2 separate regions of the Homo sapiens genome follow, and region 2 is linked to region 1. Evidence: promoter capture Hi-C in 16 types of primary human blood cells and fetal thymus (Javierre and others, 2016). All regions are on one chromosome and are shown on one strand. Each heading gives the region's core, a stretch centred on a gene start or on the middle of the fragment in contact. The rest is flanking DNA. Distances are from core to core; before and after follow the strand shown. Region 1 holds the start of LCE3A (late cornified envelope 3A). Region 2 has its middle 9.6 kb from the start of LCE3E.

The links. The method cuts DNA at HindIII sites, captures the fragments that hold promoters and counts their contacts. A CHiCAGO score of 5 or more calls a contact.
Region 2: a contact is called between a fragment that was not itself captured here and the fragment with the promoter of LCE3A in region 1, in 8 of 17 cell types (naive CD4 T cells, naive B cells, neutrophils and 5 more). The highest score is 6.4, in naive CD4 T cells.

Annotation. Positions count from the first base shown.
Region 1 is chr1:152,620,694-152,626,090 of GRCh38, forward strand. LCE3A (late cornified envelope 3A) reads right to left here and starts at 2,410. Exons shown (of 1, transcript NM_178431.1): 1 at 2,141-2,410. The coding sequence starts at 2,410. The coding sequence ends at 2,141. The HindIII fragment of the contact is 6,916 bases long and covers 1-5,397 here.
Region 2 is chr1:152,554,301-152,560,022 of GRCh38, forward strand. No RefSeq gene overlaps it. Among named protein-coding and RNA genes, the nearest start is that of LCE3E, 9.6 kb to the right of the region's middle. The HindIII fragment of the contact is 2,571 bases long and covers 1,431-4,001 here.

The DNA.
Region 1 (5,397 bases), core at 1,160-3,659:
AATTATCATTCAATCCCTCCTTTTTCCTAAAGCGTTCTGGCCAATGTGATATGAGCATCCCTGTGTCTGAACCATTCCTATCTCTTGGATCAATAGTGCAGTCAAGTAAATGCTGAAGCAATGTCTGTCATGTCACAGATCTAGACTGCTAGATTTGCAAGTCTGTCATGTCACAGATCTAGACTGCTAATTGGTGGCTCAGCTTTTAATTCCAGCATTTCTGGTTCATTTTGCCTTTATTTTTTAGCTTTGTTTTCCCCTAGACTCTTCAAGGTTTCTCCTGGTATTTAAAAGAGGGGAGGCAATGGGAATGTCCGACTCCAGTGCCCATGTTCTTGGCCTGCACACTATTCTGCCTCCCATTATCTTAGCTTGCTTCCCTTTCAGATCCAACTTCTCTCAAAGGGCAGCTTCATTTCCTCCCTCTGCCAGGAAACCTTCTGCCCAGGGACTCCTGGCTCTTGGGTCCCATTAGTTCCTCTTAGTCACTTTAGCTAGGCCATCACAGGACCATCAAAGGTCATTTTGCAGGCCAGAAACCTCACCCAACACCCACAAATGATACTAGTGACAATGTCTGGACACTTCACTCTTGTCAGGGAAACAGGGGGTTACCATCCAAAGGATAAGTCCCATGGACTTCCCACACACTTATGTAACAGTCCATATCATTCCAGCTCATAAGTGGATTGCTGACTTGTCAGTCGGCATCTCAAGGATGGGAATCATATTTCACACATTTCTGAGTCCTTTGTGTCAACATATATCTGAACTGTGTCCTCAATTCCTGTTGTTTGAATGAATTAATTAATGAATAAAATAGTATAGACAATTAGTTTTCAACAGTCTTGATAATCAAGGCCAGATATTTGGGTGTTACAGGGACTTCCTGGTTCCCTTCTATCAGAAAACATCTGGGCATCTACTGAATAATTATTGAATTTCCTACTGAGGGGCTAGAGTTTGAAGAGCTGTTACTTGGAGTAGAGTCCATCACTATCATCACTCTCCATGTCCCATCTCCTTTTTTTCTGATTCTAAATCAAAGTAGGAGGAGAAAATACCTTGATCAGCAAACATTCTGAGCCAATTCATCCCTGCCCAAGGCCCTGTTTCCCTGCTGCCCTTAGGTTAGCAAAAACGTGAGCTTAGGGTCATAGGGTCAGGGTCTGAGAAAGACGGTGAGGGACAAGGGGAGACAGATAGGTAGATAGAGATAGATAGATAGATAGATAGATAGATAGATAGATAGATAGATAGATAGATAGAAAACAATGATTTACTTTTTCATTTCTTCCAGGGATCACTGAGCTGAGATGTCCTGAAAGGAAAAACTAACAGCACTGTCAGCCCCCTCCCAAGTGCCTAACCCTCAAGTATCCTTTTGGTTGTTTGCTGCCAGTCTATTTCTGTTGTGGTTCCAGCTCTGCAGGAAGCTGCTACCGGAGTCACCATGGGCCCACAGATCCCACTGACATGCCCAACAGAGCATTCTGGAGGCTCCAGTTGCTGCCACAGCTCTGGGGGCTGCTGTGGTCCTGGGTCATGAAGACTACAGAGTATCAGAGTTGGAGGAACCAGAGGACCAAGGACCTGCTCCCATCTGGAGCTTCTCTTCTTCTCTGCCATCTAGGGCTGAGCTACCAAAGTGTTTTCGGAAGGATCTGAACGGGCCCAGTAAGCTCATTCCCTTTGTTTTCCAGAGCTCTGTGTTTATTTCCAACTCATGCTTCTGTCCTTGACCTTGTGAAAGACTGCTCACCTCATTCCCACACTAATATACAACCCCCCTAAAAGGGTTTTGTGAGTTGAGGGGTGTATGACCCACTTGTGTCTGTTCCTAAGATAGGCCTATGTACCCAATGTGGGGCAGCCCCTGTAAGGCAAAGACGGGAACGCACTGGACAGAGCTTGCAACGAGAAAGCACAGCTTTATTCTTCACAGCACAGGGATATTAAAGAAGGAGGGAAAACACTAAGACCAGCAGGATAAATCCCCTGGGGGAGTACTTGAAACTCATCAAGGAACATCTCAGTAGGAAAGAGGAGACAGGAGCAAAGAAGCACCAGGCTAGGGCTGGTTCCAGTCATTTTGGCACTTTCTTTTCTCAAATATTTTTACTTAATCTCGTGGCTCAGGTCAGCAGCAGCCCGCAGAACTGTGGCCACAGCTGGAGCTCCCGCCTTGCTGACCACTTCCCCTGTCACAGGAGTTGGAGCTCTGGCAACGGCAACGGTGAGACCTGCGGCATCTGTGGTGACTCAGGCAGCAGCTGCGCTCGGAGCTGGGCCCACAGCCCCCAGAGCTTGGGGCACAGCTGGAGGAAGCTGGAGGCAGACACTGTGCTGGGCTCTTTGCAGGGCACTTGGGCGGAGGCTGGCACTGCTGCTGGTTCTGCTGGCAGGACATCTAGGCAGGAGGTCAGGGAGCCTGGGCAAAATAAAAGCAAAGCAAAATACGTGTCAATGCAGGTTTCAGGCCAGGGCCTCCTCATGCTTTGGTTTAATTGTGGATCCCTTCCCCTAAACTCAGTCTGCCCTCCAGCTAAGACCTGGGGAAGGGGAATGCAAACGGATCTGAAGTTAAACCGGCCTGATACTGCCCCTTCCTCCGGCCCTCTCCCCTGCCTGGGAGGCAGCTGACACTCCTGGGTGGGCCTCTGGGGCTCCTGCGCACGCCCTGCGGGGCCTGTCACACCTCCGGACCCGATGCGAACAGCTCCCCCTGCAGGCGTCCCGTGAACACAACGCCCATGACCCTCCAGGGTGGCGTCTCTCTGGACGCCTGTGAGCGCAGGGTGTGAGGAGGCAACGCATCTCTGCGCACATGAGGAAAAGGGGGTTCAGAGGTCGCAGCATCGCGGAGCCCCTGAAGTGGCTCGCAGACTTGTCTGTCTTCCTCACTATCCCGCCCATCTCCCATCCCAGTCCCAGCCGGCCACCCACCACAGCCTCTCTGCCGCCTCCACCGTGTCTGCCTCCTCCCCTCTCCTTGTTGAAGCACAGACGTGTTTGCGCAGCCCTTTCAGCCCAGGTCCTCTCGCCAGCTGGACGCTCACCTGGTTTGGTGGAGGCAGGAGAAGGTTCTTCCTGAGGTGATTGTGGACTGAGGAACCCAGGGCCTCAGCCCTTTTATCCTGGGTATTATGATGCACAGCCCAACTATGTGTCCTCCTTTGCTCCCCAAAGGGAGGGGAAGCACCACACACTCCCAAGGACCAGGCTTTCAGCATATTCTTAAGGCGCATATTTTGAGGAATGACAAAAGGGAAGCAGGAAATCTCGATGACGGTCCAATTATCCACCGTTCAGGCCCTCTGGCTGCTGTTCCACTTTTTTTTCTTCATTCAGCTCACATGCTCTGAAGCCAGGGTACGTCCTTTGTGGGGCCTGGTAATATGGGGACAAACAGAACACATTTCTCCCCTTGACTAGCTCACAGCTTTTCAGAAGGCCAGATGGACAACTGAGCAATTAAATCACATCCTATGTGCTAAGCGACGCAGCACAAGTGTGCACAAACATGGCAGGCTGGGGTCACTGCCTTTGGGTGTCAGTCCCCATTGCTTTGTGGATTCCTTTACATAGGTGATGGAATCAGCCCCTGTGTCCTGAGATGTTGGCTGCACTGAGCTCACTGGACCTGGGTTGAGTAAGGGGTGGAAGAATGGAGCTGGGGCCATGGCTTGAGAGGTAGTGTCTTCAGGGAATATCATGGCATCTTAAAGGTGGCATTGGGCACTGTGGGGGCAGAGGGGTAGAGTGGAGGGAGGTGCAGATGGTATAAAAATGTGACCTCCATCTGTGGGATCAACAGAAATCACACTTAATGGGAAAAAAGGGGCATCCGTTTTTGGCTGTCTGTGAAATGTGCAAGGCTGAATTTAATCCTATATATTATGTTAGTAATTCATTAAAATTTCTTTGAATTTGTTGATAATGATGAGGTTGATGGGGTTGTATGCATTTCACTTAATGAATACCTGTGATAATGCTTGAAGTTTGTATATGATGAATTCATAAAAATGGAATATTATTTACTATTTGGTTTTAGTTATATCAGTGATAAATTTATCAGTGAATTCATCTCTAATAATACAATACAATATGCCATAGCCTCTAAATAAAAACCACTGTAATGAATTTTAAAATAATCTTTATTATACTATATATTCTTCCAAGGAAAATAATCACAATTGAGACAATATTAAGTTTCTAATAATCATGAATTTAAATTATATTGTAATTTTAAGCAAAATGTTATTTTGATCAGAGTATATGAAAGCCTGAAGATGCTTGTTCTTTGGTACAAAATACACTGCTAGAGGATATTAGTTCCTTCTTCCCCTTTGCCTATCACTCCACTTTGAACAAACTGCAATACCATGCATTCTTTTAAGAGTTCTATGAGGTCAGGAGTTCAAGACCAGCCTGTTCAACACGGCAAAACCCCGTCTCTACTAAAAATACAAAAATTAGCTGGGTGTGGTGGTGGGCATCTGTAATCCTAGCTACTCGGGAGGCTGAGGCAGGAGAATCGCTTGAGCTGGGGAGGCAGAGGTTGCAATGAGCTGAGATCGCGCAACTGCACTCCAGCTTGGGTGACAGAGCAAGACTGTCTCAAAAAAAAAAAATAGTTCTGCAGAATTATGAATGGAAGAGTGGGAATTCCTGGTGGAAAGCTGGTGAAAGGCTAGGACAGGTGTGCCAGAAGCATGTTTTTAGGAACATGCTGAATGGGGTCCTCAAGGCTTTGTTAAGTTTTAGTGTCAGAGCTATGCTGGAAGTAACTTTGCCCTTATATCCTTAAGTACTCCTACTTCCTTCCCTCAGAGGATATAATAATAAAAAGAGACAATTGCAAAGGATGTGAATGGGCACTTTTGAAATGCCACACTGGGTGTTGTGAATGAGAAGAGCGTAAAGGAAACATAGATCTCTTCGCACTGCTGCACTGACTTTGCTGGTGGAATGGGTGTGAGAGAAGGACAGGAGGGGATCACCTTGAGGGAAGCATGCTGTTAGTGAAATCTGGGCCTCCTGCAGACTTAATCCTTGTCTGAACCAAATGCCTTTTCCAGACACAGCCCAAAAGGTTGAGGAGAATGGGCTGTGATACCTTCAGAGCAGGGAAAGTACTTATCTCTTGAATTGTTGGTTCACCTAATGCTCTTCTTCTGAGACTGCCAGGCCCAGATCAGCAGCAGTCCTACTGACCTGTGGCAGCAACGGAAGCTCCCACCACTGACCACTGCAATACCATGACCATAGGTAGTAACACTGGTGGGATCAGCTCAGGCATCTGAGCTGCTCCTAGAGCTGGAGCCATGGTGAGATGAGCCTGGAAGAGGACTTGGAGCTGGTCAAAGGTAGTCACTTTAGAACGCACTTGGTGAA
Region 2 (5,722 bases), core at 1,466-3,965, 66 kb before region 1:
CTAACAGAGGATTACTCATGAGAAACCTTACAAGCCAGAAGAAATTGGGGGCACATTTACAGCATTCCTAAAGGAAAGAAATTCCATGCAAGAATTTTATATCCCATCGAACTGAACTTCATAAGCAAAGGAGAAACGAAAACTTTTCCAAACAAGCAATCACTAATTTGTTACCACTAGACCAGCCTTAAAAAAGATCCTTAAGAGATTTATAAACATAGAAACGAAAGAACAACATGTGCAACCACAAAATCACATGTAAATACATAGTCCACAGTCCCTATACAGCAACCATGCAATGGAAACAACAAAGCCATCAGCCATCAACTTCACAAGAGGATTAAAACTTCACATATCAATATTAACCTTGAATGTAAATGATCTAATGCCCCACATAAATAGCACAAAGCTGCAAATTGGAAAAAAAAAACAAGACCCATTTGTATACTGTCTTCAAGAGACTAATTTCATATGTAATGACACCTATAGTCTCAAAGTAAATGGGTTAGAGAAAGATCTATCACGTAAACTAAAAACAAAAAAGAACAGGGATATATATATATATATATATATATATATATATATATATATACGCATATCAGATAAAACAGACTTTAAATCAACAAGTAAAGAAGGGCAAAGAAGGGCACTACATAAACTATAGTTCAACATGAAGATTTAACTATCCTAGATATATATGCATCCAACATTGGAACACTTAAATTTATAAAACAAGTACTTCTAGACCTATTAAAAGACTTAGATAGCCATACAATAATAGTGGGGGACTTCAATACCCCACTGACAGCATTAGACAGAGCATCAAGGTAGAAAACTAGCAATTCTGGACTTAAAATCAACATTTGACCAATTGGACCCAATAGACATCTACAGATCCCTCCACCCATCAACAACAGAATACATCTTCTTATTTGCGTGTAGAACATACTCTAGGATTGAATACATGCTTGGCCATAAAGCAAGTCTCAATATGTTCAAAATCATTAAAATTATGCCAATCATACTTTCTGATCATAGTGGAATAAAATGGAAATCAATATAAAAAGATTTCTTAAAAACTACAACATGAGTTGGAAATTAAACAACTTGTTCCCAAATGACTTTTGGGTGAACAGTAAAATTAAAGCATAAGTCAAACAATTCTTTGAAATAAATGAAAACAGACACACAACATACCAAAATATCTGGCATGCAGCAAAAGCAGTGGTAAGAGGAAAGTTTATAGCACTAAATGTCTACATAAAGAAGTTAGAAAGATCTCAAATTAACAATCTAACTTCATCCCTAAAGGAACCAGGAAGCAGGAAAAACTAGCCCCAAAGCTAGGAGAAGAAAATAAATACTTAAAATCAGAGCAAAATCAAATAGAAGAGACCTAAAAATTCATCCAAAGGATCAATAAAACCAAAAGCTTGTTGTTTGAAAGGATAAACAAGATCAATAGACTGCTAGCTAGATTAGCAAAGAAAGAAAAGTACAATTACAAATGACAAAGCTGACATTATGACCCAGCCCATAGAAAAATAAAAGATCCTCAGATACTATTATGACCACCTCTATGCACACAAGCTAGATAAACTAGAGAAAATGAATACATTCCTAGAAACACACAACCCCCTAAGACTGAATCAGGAACAAACCAAAACCCTGAACAGACCAATATTGAGTTCCAGAATTGAATCAATAACAAAAAAACTTACCAACCAAAATGAGCCCAGGACCAGAGGGATTCACAGCCAAATTATACTAAAGGTACAGAGAAGAGCTGGTACCAATCCCACTGAAACTATTACAAAAAAAACGAGGATGAGGGGCTCCTCTCAACCTCATTCTACAAACCCAGTATCATTTTGATACCAAAATCTGGAAAAGAGACAATGAAAAGGAAAACTATTGCAAATATCCCTGATGAAACAGATGCAAAAATCCTTAACAAACAAACTGAATGCAGCAGTAGCTCAAAAAGCTAATGCACCATGATCAAGTTTGTAGGCTTTATTCCTGGAATGCAGAGTTGGTTCAACAAAAAGCAAATCAATAAATGTGATTCACCAGCTAAATGGAATTAAAAACAAAAACCATATGATAATCTCAATAGATACAGAAAAAACTTTTGATGTAATCCATCATTGTTTCATAATAAAAATCCTCAACAAACTAGGTATTCAAGGAACATACCTCAAAATAATGAGAGCCGTCTATGACAAACCCACAGCCAACATCATACTGAAGGGGCAAAAGCTGGAAACATCCCCTTAAGAACAGGAACAAGACATTAATTCTCACTCTTACCACACCTATTCAACATAGTGCTAGAAGTCCTAGTCAGTGCAATCAGCCAAGAGAAAGAATACAAGGCATCCAAATAGGAAAAGAGGATGCCAAATTCTCTCTGTTTGCTGAATGTAAAATAAAAGTTGAAATAATATAATAAAATCATTATTCAAAAAATTATTAATAGGTATTTTAAAAACACTATTATTACATTAAACATGTCTGAGTATCCTGATACAGGGAAGTCTGTAGGTGTGGCCATCTTTTTTATTTGCTCACATACATTATAGCCAAGTAGGAAACAAAAGCACTTTCAAGACACTTGGGTGAATGGGGTTGTTCCCTGAGAATGAGACTGGGAAAGGACGAGGACTTTTCAACTTTCAAACAAACATTTCATGGTTGGAATAACCACCTATTCCTTGCCTCACTAAACTCTTACCTTGGGTGTGGAAGCAAGCAGATATTAGATGTCCTTTTTGTATCCACTAAGACAATGATATCCAATGTCAAAAGTTTGCCCATGATGGGTGCCTTCACTGGGTTTAGCTACTCTTTACCAGCATCTGTCAAGTGCCCCAGAGTGGGAATCCAATTGAATATAGAGCCACCTTTGTCTAAATCTGCTGCCAAGCAAGGAAGCCAGAAGATGCCTCCAATGGGCCCCTGGAACATAAGCTCCCTGAGAGGGGACTTTGTCTTGTTTCAAACTGATCCAAGTACCTAGACCAGTGCCAAATAAGTATGTAGTGAATGAATAAATTTTTGAATGAATGAGGCTTGGCCTAGAAGTCCCCTGATGAGGACTGAAAAGTCTGTCTTCACACTTACTGAGACCTCACTTGTAGGAATCAGCTTCCAGTGGCGGGTCACCACTGCCATAACTTCTGGCTCCCATGAACTGTACTAATGTCTCAACCCAAACTTTCTTAGTTGATTCTGGTGCCACCTTTCTACATCTTGGGGTAATTCACTGACAGCAGGAGTTCTGGTGGTACTTTGGAGCACAGATCTGACTCCACAGGCACAGCTAGGTCTCTGTGCCCAGGTCTAGGGATCCTTTTTTTTTTTTTTCATATTTCTTAAAACATTTTAGAGGAATTCAGGGTACCATGGTGGTCAGGAGCATGTGGTCAGTGAAACTGTCTGGGTTTGCACGGCAGCTTCTGGGAGACCTTGGGCACCCATTCTACATTGATTCCCCTCTGTAAAATGGGAGAAGGCTAGTATCTAACTCAAAGGACTGCAGTGAGGATTAAGTTATTTACTGTATGTCAAGCCACTGGTACATTATGAGTCCTATATAAATTATAGATCCTATGAATACATATCCAATTTGCAACTCCTGAAATGATCTCATTTTTTCCCCTTTCCCTAAGTTCCTCTCAGTATATGCCCTTGCAAACACCTCCATTTCTCTCTTTGCACCTGTCACCTAATTAGCTTTCAAGGATCCCTTCCTACCCCGTCAACACCCAGATCTTCCCTATAGAAATAATATGAATGTTTTCTCTGCAGCCGTGTGTCCTTCTGCAACCTCTTTCCAGTCCTAACACATAAACTCCTCACGGTCTCCCTATGAATGGAGATAAGTGACATTTCTCATTCTTCTTGTCCTGTGAGGCACTCAGCCTGGGAGATAAGAAGGGGAAGAGCAATGGAGCAGCTTTGGGAGGGGCAAAATAGAAATGTAGGTGGAGAAGAGAAGCTTTATTTTTCACAGAGTGAGACATAAGTGCTGCTAAGCACTGAACAGAACATGGGTGTGGAGACAACCATGAGGGACACCCAGGGAGACCGCTGGAGATCACTGACAACCCTCTTCAGGATGAACTCAGGAGCTCAGACCATGGGCAGGAGGTTAGGAGTGGGTACATCAGACTGAGGTTAATCCTGGGCACTTTGGTCTCTGGTTCCTTTAAAATTGCTCATCTCAATGTACTGCCAAGGTCAGCAGTAATTCTCTAGCAATGGCTGGAGCCCCTGGCAGGCTCACTCACAGCAGTAGAGGCTGTGGTGCCTGTGCCAGTAGAAAAGATGGGGCCTTTGATAGGTCAAGCAGCAGTGCCCCACTAAAGTTAAAGTGACCCCTGAACTGGGGCTGCAGGGAAAGGCTGGAGGTGGGTATGAGGCTTAGTACTGGGGTGTGCACTTTGAAGGCTTTGGGGGTTATCACTGCTGCTGGTTTTGCTGGAGGGCATCTCAGAAGACATCAATAGAATCAGATGTGCTTGTAATGCACAAACCTCTGTCAATATCTCTTCTGTGATGGGTGTCATAGACCCCATGCTCTCCTACTGAACTAAGAAATACACGGAAGAAATGAAAAGTTACTTGGAGTTAGTTTACCTTGGAAAAATGCGTTTTTCTCTGGTCTCCTACTAGAAAAGGATGCTGAGTCTTTTCTAACTGGGCCCCTCAGGTATCTTATCTCCATGTAATCACAGAGGAGAATAAGCCTGTTTGGGTAAACCTTCCTTGATGATGTCTGGTGAGATCAGTGCATCTCGCAGAACAAATGTAGGAAGAAGATGAGGGTGTGCTGAAAACCCATTACCTTCACAGTCACAGGACACCTGAAACATCCTGAGAGGGTGCCCATTAACCCCACACTCTTCCTGGTGCCTCCATCCCAGACCCTCTGCTTCCTTCTCCCCTGATGGAAGCCTGGGCTTGTCTTCCTAGGTCTTCCAGCTCAGGTCCTGTCTCCAGCTAGACATCCATCTGATTTCATAGAAGCCAGAGAATGCTGATTTTGAGAAGTCAGTGGACTGGGGAGCCCAGGACAGGAGCTCCTAGCATGTGAGGGGCAGCATGAGTGGGCTGCTGGGGGAGTTGACAGCACTAAGTACCCCAGCCCAGCTTCAGGACTTATCCACCTTCCCTGGAACAGGATGGCATGTTTGACCACAAAGAGCCTGGTCCTCACTTGTGCATCTTCCACCCAGGCCTACATGTGTCCTTAAAAGAGGCTGTGCCCTGTGCTTTGTGGTGAAAGGTAGAGTTCAATATGACATGTCACCTGACCTATAGAAATTAATTGTCTAATTGCACAGACAAACAAGTAAATAGGGAGCCTGCTTCCATGAGAAAATTGCTATAATGTAAGTCACTATGCACAAAGTTTGCAGGTCTTTGTCCATATACTTCTTTCTAGCATGTTCCCTTAGGAAAACCAAACACCCAGATGTGGTGTTGGGGTGGTGACTTGCTGTTGGGGCGGTGACTGAGCTAAGGACGCTGGACATTCAGTATGGGCTGTGTGTAAAACAGATGGAAGCCTAAAGTCAGGGGAGGTGAGGGTCCCTGAAAGAGCCCCCGGGCAGGAGAGGAGGGGAGTCAAATGAGTACCCGATTGAAGGGCAAATGTAGAGAAGGAAAGTACAATAGTTGCAGTAATAAGAGTCACAACTGACGCATTATAAAA